Regions from separate parts of the Homo sapiens genome. Here regions 1, 3, 4 and 5 are each linked to region 2. Evidence: promoter capture Hi-C in 16 types of primary human blood cells and fetal thymus (Javierre and others, 2016). All regions are on one chromosome and are shown on one strand. The core of a region is centred on a gene start or on the middle of the fragment in contact, and the rest is flanking DNA. Distances in the headings are between cores, read along the strand shown. Region 1 overlaps LOC107984419 (a long non-coding RNA gene). Region 2 holds the start of ARL14EP (ARF like GTPase 14 effector protein). Region 3 overlaps DCDC1 (doublecortin domain containing 1). Region 4 overlaps DCDC1 (doublecortin domain containing 1). Region 5 overlaps DCDC1 (doublecortin domain containing 1).

Region 1 (2,700 bases), core at 135-2,634, 530 kb after region 2:
GCAGCTAAAGCAACCTAATGGGGTTCTTGCTGAAGGCAGGCCAGGGTGACATCACCTGAGGGATGGTGGAGCATGAAGAACCTGATTAGATATTAAAGGTGATCAAAGATGGAGGATAGCTGAACTGACTTAGCAGTGTTCTTTTTTTTTTTTTTTTGAGACAGAGCCTCGCTCTGTCACCCAGGCTGGAGTGCAGTGGCGTGACCTTGGCTCACTGCAAGCTCTGCCTCCCGGGTTCACGCCATTATCCTGCCTCAGCCTCCCGAGTAGCTGGGACTACAGGTGCCCGCCATTGAGCCTGGCTAATTTTTTTGTATTTTTAGTAGAGACGGGGTTTTACCGTGTTAGCCAGGATGGTCTCGATCTCCTGACCTTGTGATCCGCCCTCCTCGGCGTCCCAAAGTGCTGGGATTACAGGCGTGAGCCACCGTGCTCGGCCAGCAGTGTTCTTGCTAGAGCTAGACAATGCCAAGATGAACACAGAAGTCCAAAAGTAGAGGACTAGTTGAAAAAAAGAGTTCAGAAGAGCCTGAGTAGAGTTTGGTCAAGGAGAAACCTATGTCATTTAACAGGCACAGCTCTGCTCCCACTGGAGGAGGGATTCTTCTGGAAGCCTTCCTTTCCTCATCCAAACTGCTTCCATTTCCTTAGCCCAGAAATGCTGAATGCTGGAAGAGGGCTGCCATGGTTTGAATGTTTGTCTCCTTCAAAACTCATGTTGACATTTTAATTGTTATCATAACAGTACTGGGGGCTGAGGGCCATGAGGGCTCCACCTCCATGGTGGGATTGGTACTGTTAGGAAGGGTGCCTTTAGCCTCCTCTTGCTCCGTCTCTCACCCTCTCGCCTTCTGCCATGTGATGATGCGGCCAGAAGACACTTGTTAGGTGCCATCACCTTGATACTCAACTTTTCAGCTTCCAGAACTGTGAGCCAATAAATTTCTGTTCATTATAAATTACCCAGTCTGTGGTATTCTGTGATAGTAGCACAAAACAGACTAAAACAAGGTCTTTATTGTGATTCTAAATCTGGCCTAAATGATATCACGTAGTCTGTTAATTTTTTATATAGATGCCCTTTGTGTCACATTTTCTGCTGGCTTATGTGTCTTTTAATCACACCTCACAGCAACAGGAGCTACTTGACAGGGTGCCACGGTACCAACTTTTTCATCCTTGGATGCAATTTCAGAACGGTATTCCATCAAAAGGAGCAGCAGGATTCTATTAGAACATCTCTTATCTAATACAGAAACACAGTTCTGTCACCACCAAATTTTCCAGTTCACAAATGCTAAGAGTTTCAATACTATTACAACCACATAGTTCAACGGGATTTAAAACCTATTTTTAAAACAGTAGACTGGATTCATCTTTAATACATAGACCGAGTTTTCCATGTGTTCATATGCCACCTAGTGGGCTATATTACATACAAAATGTAAAACTGATCTTTTGAATTATAATCTAGCATTTTCTTCCTAAAATTTGAGGTCCAAGTGACAAATCTTAGCCAGTAAAATCTCTAAATTTAAAAGGTAACGTTACATATTCAGCACAGAGTCAGTTTGAAAGAGACCAAAATTTGGAATTCCTTTTAAACATTTCATCTGCGGCGATTTAAAACAAGAAAATATCTCCATCAAAGGGTTTAGGTTTGAGTTACCATTGACAGTAGTGGAAAGACAAACTGGTGAAAAATAAAAGTAGCCTATTTTATCTAAGGGGGTTAAGGTGTGGAGCAAATAGAAAAACAAGACTTCACAATTCAAAGTAGCTGACAATTTTAAAGATACATGATGTTTCACAACCTCTTGAAGGATTAGGCATTTTTAAGGCACCTCTATGTTAGGTTAAAGCTGATGTTCAAAAAGTAGTTATTGACTGTTTACCATGTGCTGAGCACTAAGCTAGGGACCGAGATAAAAGAATGGGCAAAACTAAAGAGAACTCTTGCCCTAAAGAAGCAGAGATCTGCTACTTCAGAACACTCTGGATTTTGCCACTGAATTTTACAGTTAGTATTATGACACCGTTTTACACATGTTTTCATTGACGTAATCCTAACAGAATTAATTATGCTGTTACTAAAGGGCAGAGTGAACTCAGTTATGGTGATTACTGACTTTCCAGAGTTCTAGGACTGTTAGGAGAGCTGTAGCAGCTATGGAAGTAAACTGTTTTTTTTTTCTTTTTCTTTTCTTTTTGAGATGGGGTTTCACTCTGTTGCCCAAGCTGGTCTCGAACTCCTGGGCTCAAGTGATGTTTTTGCCTGGGCCTCCCAAAGTGCTGGGATTACAGGAGTGAGCCACCACACCCATCCCTGAGGAAGCAAACTTGTTGAAGCAGTTTGGTCTTCTCACTGACTGAAGATGAGAGAAATCTTATCAGCTTGCTATCATGTGATTTTGGGAGAATTCTTCATACTTGCCTGGGGTTAGCTTGAGAATTGATCATCTTCCATGGAGTGCTTGAATCATTTCCCATAAGGCCCAGAAACGGAGCAATGAAAAGAGCTTAAGATAATGAAAAGGGCCAATGTCCACGAAGTTGGAAATTCAGTGTATACCATAATTCACAGACTTCTCCAGTATTAAATGAGTAAAGAAGGGGAGAAGCTAGGGGACTGCACTGAACTTCCTGCTGTTCTATTGTTTTGGTTAAAGCAGTAATTGCCCTCAACTCTTTTTTGGCTTC
Region 2 (2,700 bases), core at 124-2,623:
GATAGGATATATGAACATTACTTAACCCATGATTCAGGTGATGGCGTCCTTCCACTTGCTTGCACCTTATCCTAAGTGTGTCCACTTACCACAACTCTTTCACCTTTTCACTGGATACTTAAATTGAATAGGCTATATTATTTAATAATCTTAATTTGATCTGTGAGCCTTCTCTGTTTCATTACCTTTAGGATAGCTTGCCTAGTTTACTAGGAAGTCACAATTGCATCAAATTAAGTTCCATGCAGGCATTAATCTCCTCCCAGAACGCTCCTGCTTTAGCCCCTATCATTTTATCCTGTTTATATCCATGTGTTTCTGTTATGACACTTTTCACACCACACTGTGATTAACTGTTTATTCCTCTCTCACTAGTCTGTGAGCTCCTTGGAAGCAGAAATAAATTTTGTTTTTGTCTAATCATTGCTTAACAAAGTGCCAACCACAAAGTAAACAGTAAAAGAATTACAGAATGCAACCTCCTGCAGACACAGTTGAAGAAACTATTCATTGTTTTTTCCTTTCTGTCATTCCCTAGTTCTAGGCATCAAATCGCTTGCCTAGTCGGCGAGCAGTATGAAAGTGGTGGGAGGACCATAGACGCACTGCAGAAAACAGCTTACAGTAGATGCAGAGAATTACTAGCACGCTTGGGCCTTGGTGGGGCTTGTCTTATTTACCTGTTCCTCATTTTTCACTGGGAGTTTAAAACAAGTTTTTGTTTCCCTGCTATCCCGACCTTAAGATAATTAAAAGGCCAAGAATCTTTAAGAGACTTTCAGTTCTCCTGGATTCTAGATAATAAAACCCACTTTAAAAATTAATGAGCACCTATACTGTGACAGACAATAAGGATACAATAAAAATACCATTTCTGTTCTGAGAAAATTTACAAGCATCTTCCTGGAGCCTACATTTTACTCGAAGTAATAGCTATTTTTATAGCTTACAATAAAAGATGCATTTTGGAATATATTTCGCTTGAATTAAAGAAATAGAATGTGAGACCTTAAACAAAGGGTCCGTTCTTCAGATCCTTTTAACTCACACTCTCCTTCAGGGGTCGGGGTATTTGGGTGCAAAAGTTTACTATCACGCACAGGTGTAGAGATGTACAAATACGATCCAATTTAGTGGAAACTGTGTCTTGTAAGAGATGGCCCCCAGGGACCTCCCACATCCCTAACCTCTCGGAGGACTGCAAAAGACAGCATCTGAAGCACCTCTTGCCTCGCCTTGAATCATTTGCCACTTCACACCGCCCCGCCCCTTCCGTCCCCGGAGGCGGCCAGCCTCGTGTCCGCTCTAGGCTTCTCCCGGACGTCTCTTTGTGGTGGCGTTGAGCTCCTCTAGCCCGCGCTTGCCGTCCTCTCAGTGGTAGCGCGGGGACTGGCTGGGAAGCGGTCGGTCGAGTGTGGCCTGTGTGGACTCGCATCTTGCCCGAAGCCGGGCGGAGGAGAGCTCAAGCTAAGGTGGAAGGGGAACGGGGGAGGCCCTGGAGAGGAGTGGGAGAGTGGAGACAGGCCCCTGGGTGGCGAGGGAGCCCGGCGGCGTAACGGGGGAACCCGGGGAGAGGTGGAAGAGGAGGCCCGCACACGTGAGGGGGATTTCCAGCTGCTGGCCGGGGCCTCTCACCCCTACCCCCGCGTAGTTCATCTGCGACGCAACGCCTTGTGTCAAAGCCCAGCACAGGTTCTGCCGCCTCTGACCTCTCTGAGGGTCGTCGCCTGTCCTGTAGGCCCAGGACCTTCAAAGCTACGATTTTGACGTGAACTACTTAGGGTTATTGTGGCCTTGAACTCCGTAGACAGCCTTTATCTCTGCTATTTTTGTTTTTAATTTTTCAAATCAGAATCCTTTCAACCCTGGCCGTTTGAGGCCAAAGGCTAATGTTTATTTTTCCATCCCGGTACCATGAACTTAGTAGGTGCCCACTGGACGGATCTGGTGGTTTTAGTCATTTGTAAATAGCCGTGAACTAAGGAAGAAATGTATGTGGCCTCTTACAGGGTTGGGTTGGGAATCATTGCAGGGTTTGGGGGCACTCTGTTAGGCATGATAACAACAGCTCTAGGCTTGAGTTTCTTCATCTGTAAATGAGAATGATAGTACTTTCCTCAGGGTGGCTATGAAGGTTCCTGAAATGATGTTTGCCCTAAGCACTGTACCTGGCATGTCCTGACTACCACACTTGAACCAAATCTTTTCAATGGTGTTATGGACTATATTTTTGTTTTAAATTGCCTTTACCTTTCTTATTGTACCTAGATCTTCCTGAGGATTGAGACTCTCCTCTTTGCCTTTGGGCCAATTGTCATGTTATAGGTAATCAGTATTTGAAGATGACAGGCACAAAAAGTTCACAGTTGCAGGATGCGTGACTTTTGTAGGCGTATGTACCCATAACTAAAGCTCCTGATTTGGGGAGTAGGGGTAGATTAAATTATATTTTTATTAAATAAGAGATAATCTGGGAAGACGCTGTGTAAGTTGTAAGACCCTATGCCAAGAAAAGCCTTTAATTTTTTTCATAAAACATTTCATGAAAACTTTTTTTATGTTTTTCATAAAAGAGACATCAGTTGACCTAAAAACGAAGTAAATTTTTTGTTTTGTTAAATTTCCTCTAAATGTTACTTTTCCCACTAATAAGGAGACTGGTAACAAACTAAAAAACTATGTTAAGGGAAATTAACATAT
Region 3 (2,700 bases), core at 185-2,684, 600 kb after region 2:
AAGGCTCAGTAAGAAGAAAGAGAACCTCAGTGCTGCCTTTTCTGATCATTGCAAAGTCATTATTACAAACATTCGACATTTTGTGTATGAAGACCCAGGGGAAACTTTAAATAATAATAATAATAATTATTATTATTATTTGAGATGGAGTCTCACTCTGTAGCCCAAGCTGGAGTGCAGTGGCATGCTTTCGGCTCACTGCAACCTCTGCCTCCAGGGCTCGTGATTCTCGTGCCTCAGCCTCCTGAGTAGCTGGGATTACAGGCACCTGCCACCATGCCCAGCTAATTTTTTGTATTCTAGTAGAGGCAGGGTTTCGCCACGTTGCTCAGGGTAGTCTTGAACTCTTAAGCTCAGGTGATCCACCCACCTCGGCCTCCCAAAGTGCTGGGATTACAGGTATGAGCCACTGCACCCAGGCAAAAATTTCTTATTTTGAACAACGGATTTCTTTTTCTCTTTTGGACATATTTAATCATGTAACTAACTGTTTATGTTTCCATCTTCATGTTACTCTTCAGAGCAGTGACAGATTAGTTTCTAGCAAATATACAATCACTCCTGGCTCCATCTTATCCTCCTTCCACTCATACCTGCTTTGCCATGGTGGCCTCATCTATACTTACCATTAAATTAACTTTTTGTATTGTATGATTTAATGTAATCTACCTTAAATTCATTCTCTAAAAAACCCACAGTGAATAGCACAGCAGACCAAACAAAAACACTAAAAGCAAACAAACAAAACACTTGGAGAGATGGCATTAGGATTCAAAATGAGATCTAGCAGTCTCTGAGAACAACAGACTCTCCACCCTGCGATTCTGCCTCTGATGTTGGCCATTGATACTTCTGTTTAAGACTCTCTCCAGTATTTAGGTTCAGGGCCTCAGTTGAGTTCTGACGAAATGGTAGAAGCTTTGTTCTCTGTTCAAAGAATTGTAGGCATCAATCAAGGAAGGTATCTTTTTTTTTAATTTTTCAAACCAATGCCTCAAATTCTATAAATGAGGGGGAAGGCTGGGCTGCTAAAGTCCTTCCACTTTTCAGCCTTCTCCAGTCACCAAATAGAGTGTATGAAAAAAGTAGACATAATTTTGTCCTGAAAAAGTGAAATTACCATTTAGTAAAAAACCATTAAACAACTACATTTTGAAGGTCTCAAAAAGAGTAGAGAATTTACCTCCTTCAGAGCAGGAGATAGAAATTACAAAGGATTAACAATTTGGCCTTCTCCAGTTTCTTCCTTAATTTCTAGAGTCTAGGATCATGATGAACATTAAGTAGATTAATTCGGCCGGGCGCGGTGGCCCACACCTGTAATCCCACCACTTTGGGAGGCTGAGGCAGGTGGATCACCTGAGCTCAGGAGTGTGAGACCAGCCTGAGCAACATGTTGAAATCCATCTCTACCGAAAATACAAAAAATCAGCTAGGCATAGTGGCACATGCCTATAATCCCAGCTACTCTGGAGGCTGAGGTGGAAGAATTGCTTGAGCATGGGAGGCAGAGGTTGCAGTGAGCCAAGACTGCGCCACTGCACTCCAGCCTGGGTATCAGAGTGAAACTCCATCTCAAAAAAAAAAAAAAAGTTTAATTTATATACCACTCTGAAAACCATGCCAGACATATAGGAAGCTCTGAATAATGTTAGCTGTTAGTATTACTTTCTGATGTTTGCTCAGTTAGGATAATTCTGAGAGAAAATAAGAATTAAAATGGTAAGCATTTGAAGACTTATATTTAAGGGGATTCTTTCTTGGATGGGGTATTAATAAATTAATATTGCCAGTTTCAAATCCATGTCTTTACCAGTTCATCTCTTTGCAGGTCTTTTAAGGCAAATATTTCCTTCCCCTTTTCATTGTACAATCTCCGAGCTGCAGAAGGTAAATTTAAAATCTCAGTGCACCTGTAATAAAAGACACAAAAATTGACCTTGCATACAGAAAGCTTCCAGCAGCAAAGAGAGAAAATAAAAGAAATCTGGGGCCTGAATCCATAATGACAACTCTCTCTGCAGGACTGTTAGTCATGAGCTGGACTCTGGGGCCCATCAGACCCATTTGAGTCTCATTTTCCTCTCCAAATTGTGGCACTTGGGCAAATTATTTAACCTGTCTAAGGCTAGATTTCTTACCTTCCAGGGTTTCTGTGAAGATTAAAGGTTGATTTTGAAAAGAGCTCTTAGCACAGTCCCAGACATGACCAATAAATAGCTAGACACACTGCTATTGACTTTTAGTTCCTTGGTATGCCCCACACTTTTCTATTTCTGTGCCTGCGTTCTTTCTCCTACCTAAAAAAATTTTTCCTTGGCTTTTTCTGATGTAGTCTTGTTCTTTCTCCAAGGTTGTCAAAGTCTAATTTGTCACCAAGTTCCTCAGCTCCCTCCACCAGAGGGTAGTCTGTTTCAACTACCTTTGAAACAGACGTTTTTAGCCTGGTTAAACACTGAACACTGATTTCCCACTCCCACAACCCCCTGCCTTCCCAAACAAGCACCGGACAAGCCCTGTGGATATTGAGATGATGACAGTTTTGTAGTTCCCTGAGGAGCTCCGAGTCTGGTCAGGGTAGAGAAAGGTGAGCAATTGAAGTGTAATATGAAGTCGTAGGTGCTGCCATAGGCACCTGCCCAGCGTGCTGTGAGAACAGAGGGGAAAACAATTTTTCCAGAGAAGCCTTATCTAAGGGAG
Region 4 (2,700 bases), core at 191-2,690, 550 kb after region 2:
ATGCCCAGCACCTAGAACAGTGAGTGCAGTGACTGCCTGAATATATATATATATAAATATATATTTTTCATGTATATATATATTCATGCATATACCATGTATATACAAGCTGGTCTCTCTCTCTCTCTGTCTCTCTCTCTGTCTCTCTCTGTCTCTCTCTCTCTCTCTCTATCTTCTGCATATATATACACACGCACAGTTTTAACATTGGGAAAGCTGTTAGCTGGGCTAGCTTAGAGGGTGGGGTAGTAGAAGATAGAGTAATAAAAATCAAAATCCACAATGGGATTTATCCTATCAAAATGACTACACTAAACAAGAGGCAAGGAAAAATTTAAACTTTTATATTTGTATATAAAAATGTATAAATATATAAAAATGTGTGTGTATATACATATATATATATATATATATAGAGAGAGAGAGAGAGAGAGAGAACAAACTGGTATATACATGAATTAAGTGTTAGAAAAACTAATTTTCTTTGTATTCTCTGTTTTCCAAGGAAAGTGTCTGTCTTCCAAGGAGAGTGTCTGTCTCTCAAGCTATATGGATTTCATTGGTCTGGCAAGAGAACTATCTTGAAAATTCATTTTTCTAAGAGAATTTGTTACCGAACTGAAATAACGTCCTGTGGATTTTCACACTCTTGGGTGAGCCTGCCAGGGATGCAGGTGCTCACACTTCCTTGCTAACTAGACTTAGGGCAAACAGAAAAGAGATGTTCAAGTAGCTCCTTCACAGGAGAAAGAGCAATGATGGAAAATAGAAATCCTCTCCTTGTTCCAAAGCTCTCCTTCTTTGTACATATAAAAATGTATAAGAAAACTCCAGGAAGCTGGTTATTTTCCCCACCCTCAAAAGTACTCCGCTCCCTGATATATGTACCACAGCACTGATATTATTCCTGTGACCTTTAAAATAGCAAGATTTTATCAGCACTGAAGGCAGCTTAATGAACATGGAAAGCTTCAGCACCTCAAACTCACTTGTTTAGCCTTCCAATGTCTGGGTCCTAGTTAAAATCTCTGGGTGGTTATATCTGACTCAAGAACATTTCCATCATTTCTTAAGGGAACTGTGATGAGAAAACATGAGGCTACTTAGACTCAAATACTCACATACAAAGCAAATGTTTCATTGTCTTCATAGCCCCTGAATACAGGCTTTGTTCTTAAAACTGGTACTTACCACTTGGGCCATGCCCTGCTGATAATAAACAGCACTGTCCCTGGCAGGCCTAAAACTCTTGGCAAAGTTTCTTACACTGTGGTCACGACGTGCTTCTTCCCAGGTGCTTGTTAAAATGCAGATTCCTTATACCTTAGGCATAGAGATTATGACCAGTGCTGGGACCAAGCCTGGAAATCTGTATTTTATCTAGCACACCAGGTGTTTCTTGTGCACACTCAAATTTGAGAATCATATTAAGGAAGTATCTCTTGCCAATACACAAATTGTTCCAGGAAACAGTTTTTTCTTTTTAAATGAAAGATGGGATTTAAAGACTCTTAGAGGAGAAAAGCCAGGAAGACGGGAAAAGGCCAAGAGGCAGGGAGGAAGAGGGAGGAGGGAAGAGGGAGAAAAAGTAATGGAAATGAGAACAGAGATATAATCAGATTTTAGATTTTTAGAGGCACTAACCTAGGAGCCCTGGGAAGTTCCCTCCTCTCCTCCACCTCTCTCCAGCATAGTCACTGAGTAAAGGACAGTGCCCTTCAGGAAATTTCCTTTAAAACACAGCTTCCAGTGGTGGCACCAGAGATGACCACCGAACTGCCTCAGCTGGTCTCACACAGCTGACATTCCTGAGCATGTGCACCTGAGCTAAAACCCTAATATCAGTTTCCTACATTGAAATTACTGCTCTAGGACTGGCAAGCTAGGACCTGATAGGTCCAACAGCTCGACTGAAGCTTGTATCTGCCTGCAAGCCCACAGAGGGATACCACAGACAATGAGCAATAGCACATCCAATTCAGAATCACCATTTTACTTGCCATAGATATAGAATTTCTCGTCTCCTTTCTTCCTCTCTCCTTCAACCCAGTTGCACTATGGGCATATGTATTTCCTCTCTCATATATTTCTATTTATACATTTGGTACAGGGTGACAGCCTTGATAGTAGTTTCATATTCCAGACTCGTAGAATTAGAAAATGTTATAGCTGCCAGCAGGCACCCACTGAATACCTACGGTTACACGGTCAGTCCATTTATTTTCATCAGCTTTCTCCTGAGTGGTCTTTGTTGATCTTGCTTTGTAGTTGCTTATGGCCACACAGCCCCAAACCATGCCATTTATGCAGAATTCTAATTTACTGTGTCGAGAACAAAACTGTTACTCTTTCATTCTACTTACCTAGCCTCGTAGAGGGGACACGGGGTTGAGATATTTTCAAAGCCAGGAGGGAACCAGAACCAGCGGTTCAATAGAAACAACTGAGAGTCACCACTGAGTCTAAATTTCCCATAACTGGGGACATTTGCATCTGATTTTGTGATGTACTAGAATAACGCAGATTTGTGTGTTTTGATCATTCGCTTCCAAATGACGCAGATTTGTGTGTTTTGATCATTCGCTTCCAAATGATGCAAAAAAAAAAAATGCTGCCATGGTGAATCACAAATCTCTCAATGGCACTCAGCACACCTGGGCTATTATTGAAGGTTAGCTCACAAATGCTTCAACAGCCACG
Region 5 (2,700 bases), core at 14-2,513, 620 kb after region 2:
AGAATGATTTCAGTTTAAATGTTTTTTCCTTTATATTTTTACTAGAATATCTTGCTTGGTAAACATGTTAACAACAGCGACAAACAATAAGGGTGACTTAACACAATTCTAAATAAGAAAAATTTGAACTACAGAAGCTTCATTTTATTCCTAAACCTCACTGAGAAACTTTCACCAGTACAGAAATAATATTGCAGAGGGTAGATGATCAAGTGTTTATTTAGATAAGTGTCTGCTATCTATGAATGGAGCAACATGGGGCTGTTTTTTCTTATTATGGTTACTGAGAATAAATTATCAAAGGTTATGACAACTTCATTGTATATTTTTATTTGAAATTGGCCTGTTGTATAAAGGGAAGTAGTGGGATGGAGTCACATAACTTCAATAAGTATGTTTGGGATTTGTCTGTAACTATTCTATAGCGGAGATATTGAACAATTTAGTTGATGGAGAAAATCAACTTTTATACTAGTTTCAGTCATAAAAGATCATGAAGCAAGGGTTGGGTAGGTGAGAGAGATGGTGAGGGAATCTCATTAGAAAATTACTGTTGCATTGAAGTCTTGGTGTAAAATAGCTAATATATCTCTTTCTTTCTGAACCATGGCAGGGAAAGGCAAAAGAAACAAGATTCTCCTTCATGCTTTGTCTGTGATACATGTCGATTCATAGATTCAGGGTGTGTAACTGTTCTTTTCAATATCCCAAGTATGCTATATTTCTGATGAACATATCTGAAGTGTGCTGTCTTAGCTCCTAGCTATTTCTACATTTTCTCACTTCCAACTTGTCCCATGGCAAATGGTAGCATCTGCAGACATTGGCTTTGGCACTACTGAAGCACTGCTGTCTTTGGATGGCTTCTTTTACTTTCCAGTTAGACGAAGGAAGCCCAAGAGTCTTCTCTTTTTAATGTGAGACATCACAGAAACCCAATTAAATGAGATTAAAACGTTAACTTGGGTTTCAAAACTTTACAAATGTTAACTACTACTGTCGGTTCTTCCTTTAAGCTGCTTTAATTCTCGTTCTGGTGTTTCAGGCACTTTCATTCTGTCCTTCATAGACATAGAGAAATAAGGCGTTGGGATAATGAAGGACAACAAAAAGTACAGATATGTAATTAAACTGACTGGAGTGCTGGTTCTTCTCCCTCCATTTTCTCAGTTGGAATTCTTATGTTCCCATGCATGTCTTTATTGGTTTTCTCTGTGTTCACACTGCTCTATGTCACAGCTCCACAGTCGGGAGACCCTAGATGAGCTGTGGTGCTCCCTTAAATTGATCATTCTTCTTTTTTTTTTTATCTCTCTCTCATAAGAGAGAGAGCATGTGTTCGTTTTGGGAGTCCAGCTCTTAACCAGCAATCTAAGTTTCATAGCTATATTAGTCCTCTTTTATCTATTTGCTATTAACAATATAATATATTCTTCAATGTTCTCTCCTGAGCCTTCCCACGTCTCCTTTTCCCCCCTCTTTATTCTGGTAGCTACTTATTATCATCTCTCAATAGAGTAATAAACTTTTAGCTTTGTTCTGTCTGGCATGGCCCGTCCAAATGGATATATTTTAATTTAGATACTTTAAAATAACTATCCAACAGCTCATTCCAAAATCGTACATCTTTTTAATCTTACTTTTTACCACAATTCCTTCCTTGAATATGAAAATCCATTGCTCCTTACCTTTAAGTGTTTAGAAGCACAATTTTTCAATTCACAACTTTTCCCCCATAGAGTGAGAAAATAACTTGAGTTCCTCTAATTTTTTCCAGTGAACTTAGTCACAAAAGAAACCAAAAGAATTTATTAATGTTGGTTTTCAATAAGGCTTTACCATATTTAAAAAATACTGATATCCCTAGATATATTAAATGCTGTTTGTTCATAAAAATATTATCAATTGCCTTTTAGTATGAATAATATTTAAAAGTGAGGACAGCATGAAATCAGTTCTCAAAGCAGCTGTCACCACTGAGAGGTACATAGTTTTTAGTATTAATGCAGTCTGAGACATTACCAAGATAATTCCATATTTCTATATTGTTCATACTTCCTTAGTCATCATTCTATTTTGAAAGTTTCTTGTCAAGGAACTAACAGGAGAATTGGAGTCTCACTCAGGGTGTTGTTTGTTAGATGGTTTTCCTAGATTTAGTATTTTTACTTAATTTTCAGGCCCATTTGGACAATCAGCCCAGCTGATCTTTCTTCACAGTGACTATATGACTAAATAAACTGGCTCAATGCATAGCCTTGATTTCTGGAACACCAAACTTTTTCTGTGAGTTTCTTCTCTCTCCCTTCCTTCTCCTTTATTCATCAACTCTGTCTCCTTCCTTTTCTTGTTTCTTCCTTGTTGACTCATAGCTTATACTTCTTAATCTGTAAGCTTCATGAACTTAGGAACCAAGTCTATCTCCTTCCTTGCTCTGTCTGCATTGCCTAAATATGTAAGACATAATGGTTAGATAAATAGTAAAGTTGGAAACTTAAATCCGGTATAAAATTATTATTTATGCTTATAGTACCCAAAGTATTCTGAATGCCACAATATGAGTGTCACATTTCCTAATCACAGTTTATTTATATGGAAAGCTTTCCAACCAAAATATGAATTGCATTTAACTGTTCACTGAAATAGAGTTTGTTCTGCTAAAAAAAAATCAGTTGCTTGAAAATAGGACTGGAAGAAAAT

Evidence for each region. The method cuts DNA at HindIII sites, captures the fragments that hold promoters and counts their contacts. A CHiCAGO score of 5 or more calls a contact.
Region 1: a fragment that was not itself captured here is called in contact with the fragment with the promoter of ARL14EP in region 2 in 2 of 17 cell types (megakaryocytes and endothelial precursors); the score reaches 8.4 in megakaryocytes.
Region 3: a contact is called between a fragment that was not itself captured here and the fragment with the promoter of ARL14EP in region 2, in 7 of 17 cell types (monocytes, M0 macrophages, M2 macrophages and 4 more). The highest score is 17.0, in monocytes.
Region 4: a contact is called between a fragment that was not itself captured here and the fragment with the promoter of ARL14EP in region 2, in 1 of 17 cell types (endothelial precursors). The highest score is 6.8, in endothelial precursors.
Region 5: a contact is called between a fragment that was not itself captured here and the fragment with the promoter of ARL14EP in region 2, in 4 of 17 cell types (M0 macrophages, M1 macrophages, M2 macrophages and 1 more). The highest score is 7.9, in M0 macrophages.

What each region holds. Positions count from the first base shown.
Region 1 is chr11:30,854,172-30,856,871 of GRCh38, forward strand. All of the region lies in intron 3 of LOC107984419 (a long non-coding RNA gene), which reads right to left. Among named protein-coding and RNA genes, the nearest start is that of LINC02859, 120 kb to the left of the region's middle. The HindIII fragment of the contact is 3,945 bases long and covers 1-2,700 here.
Region 2 is chr11:30,321,731-30,324,430 of GRCh38, forward strand. ARL14EP (ARF like GTPase 14 effector protein) reads left to right here and starts at 1,374. Exons shown (of 4, transcript NM_152316.3): 1 at 1,374-1,472. It overlaps ARL14EP-DT (ARL14EP divergent transcript), which reads right to left and starts at 1,216. Exons shown (of 2, transcript NR_187437.1): 1 at 1,188-1,216. RefSeq lists enhancers at 1,036-1,641, 1,154-1,403 and a silencer at 1,474-1,603. The HindIII fragment of the contact is 9,349 bases long and covers 1-2,700 here.
Region 3 is chr11:30,923,496-30,926,195 of GRCh38, forward strand. DCDC1 (doublecortin domain containing 1) reads right to left here. Exons shown (of 39, transcript NM_001387274.1): 23 at 1,814-1,913. Among named protein-coding and RNA genes, the nearest start is that of LINC02859, 190 kb to the left of the region's middle. The HindIII fragment of the contact is 1,036 bases long and covers 917-1,952 here.
Region 4 is chr11:30,872,951-30,875,650 of GRCh38, forward strand. The region is part of intron 38 of DCDC1 (doublecortin domain containing 1); the gene reads right to left. All of the region lies in intron 1 of LOC124902656 (a long non-coding RNA gene), which reads left to right. Among named protein-coding and RNA genes, the nearest start is that of LINC02859, 140 kb to the left of the region's middle. The HindIII fragment of the contact is 947 bases long and covers 968-1,914 here.
Region 5 is chr11:30,941,894-30,944,593 of GRCh38, forward strand. The region is part of intron 21 of DCDC1 (doublecortin domain containing 1); the gene reads right to left. Among named protein-coding and RNA genes, the nearest start is that of LINC02859, 210 kb to the left of the region's middle. The HindIII fragment of the contact is 2,257 bases long and covers 136-2,392 here.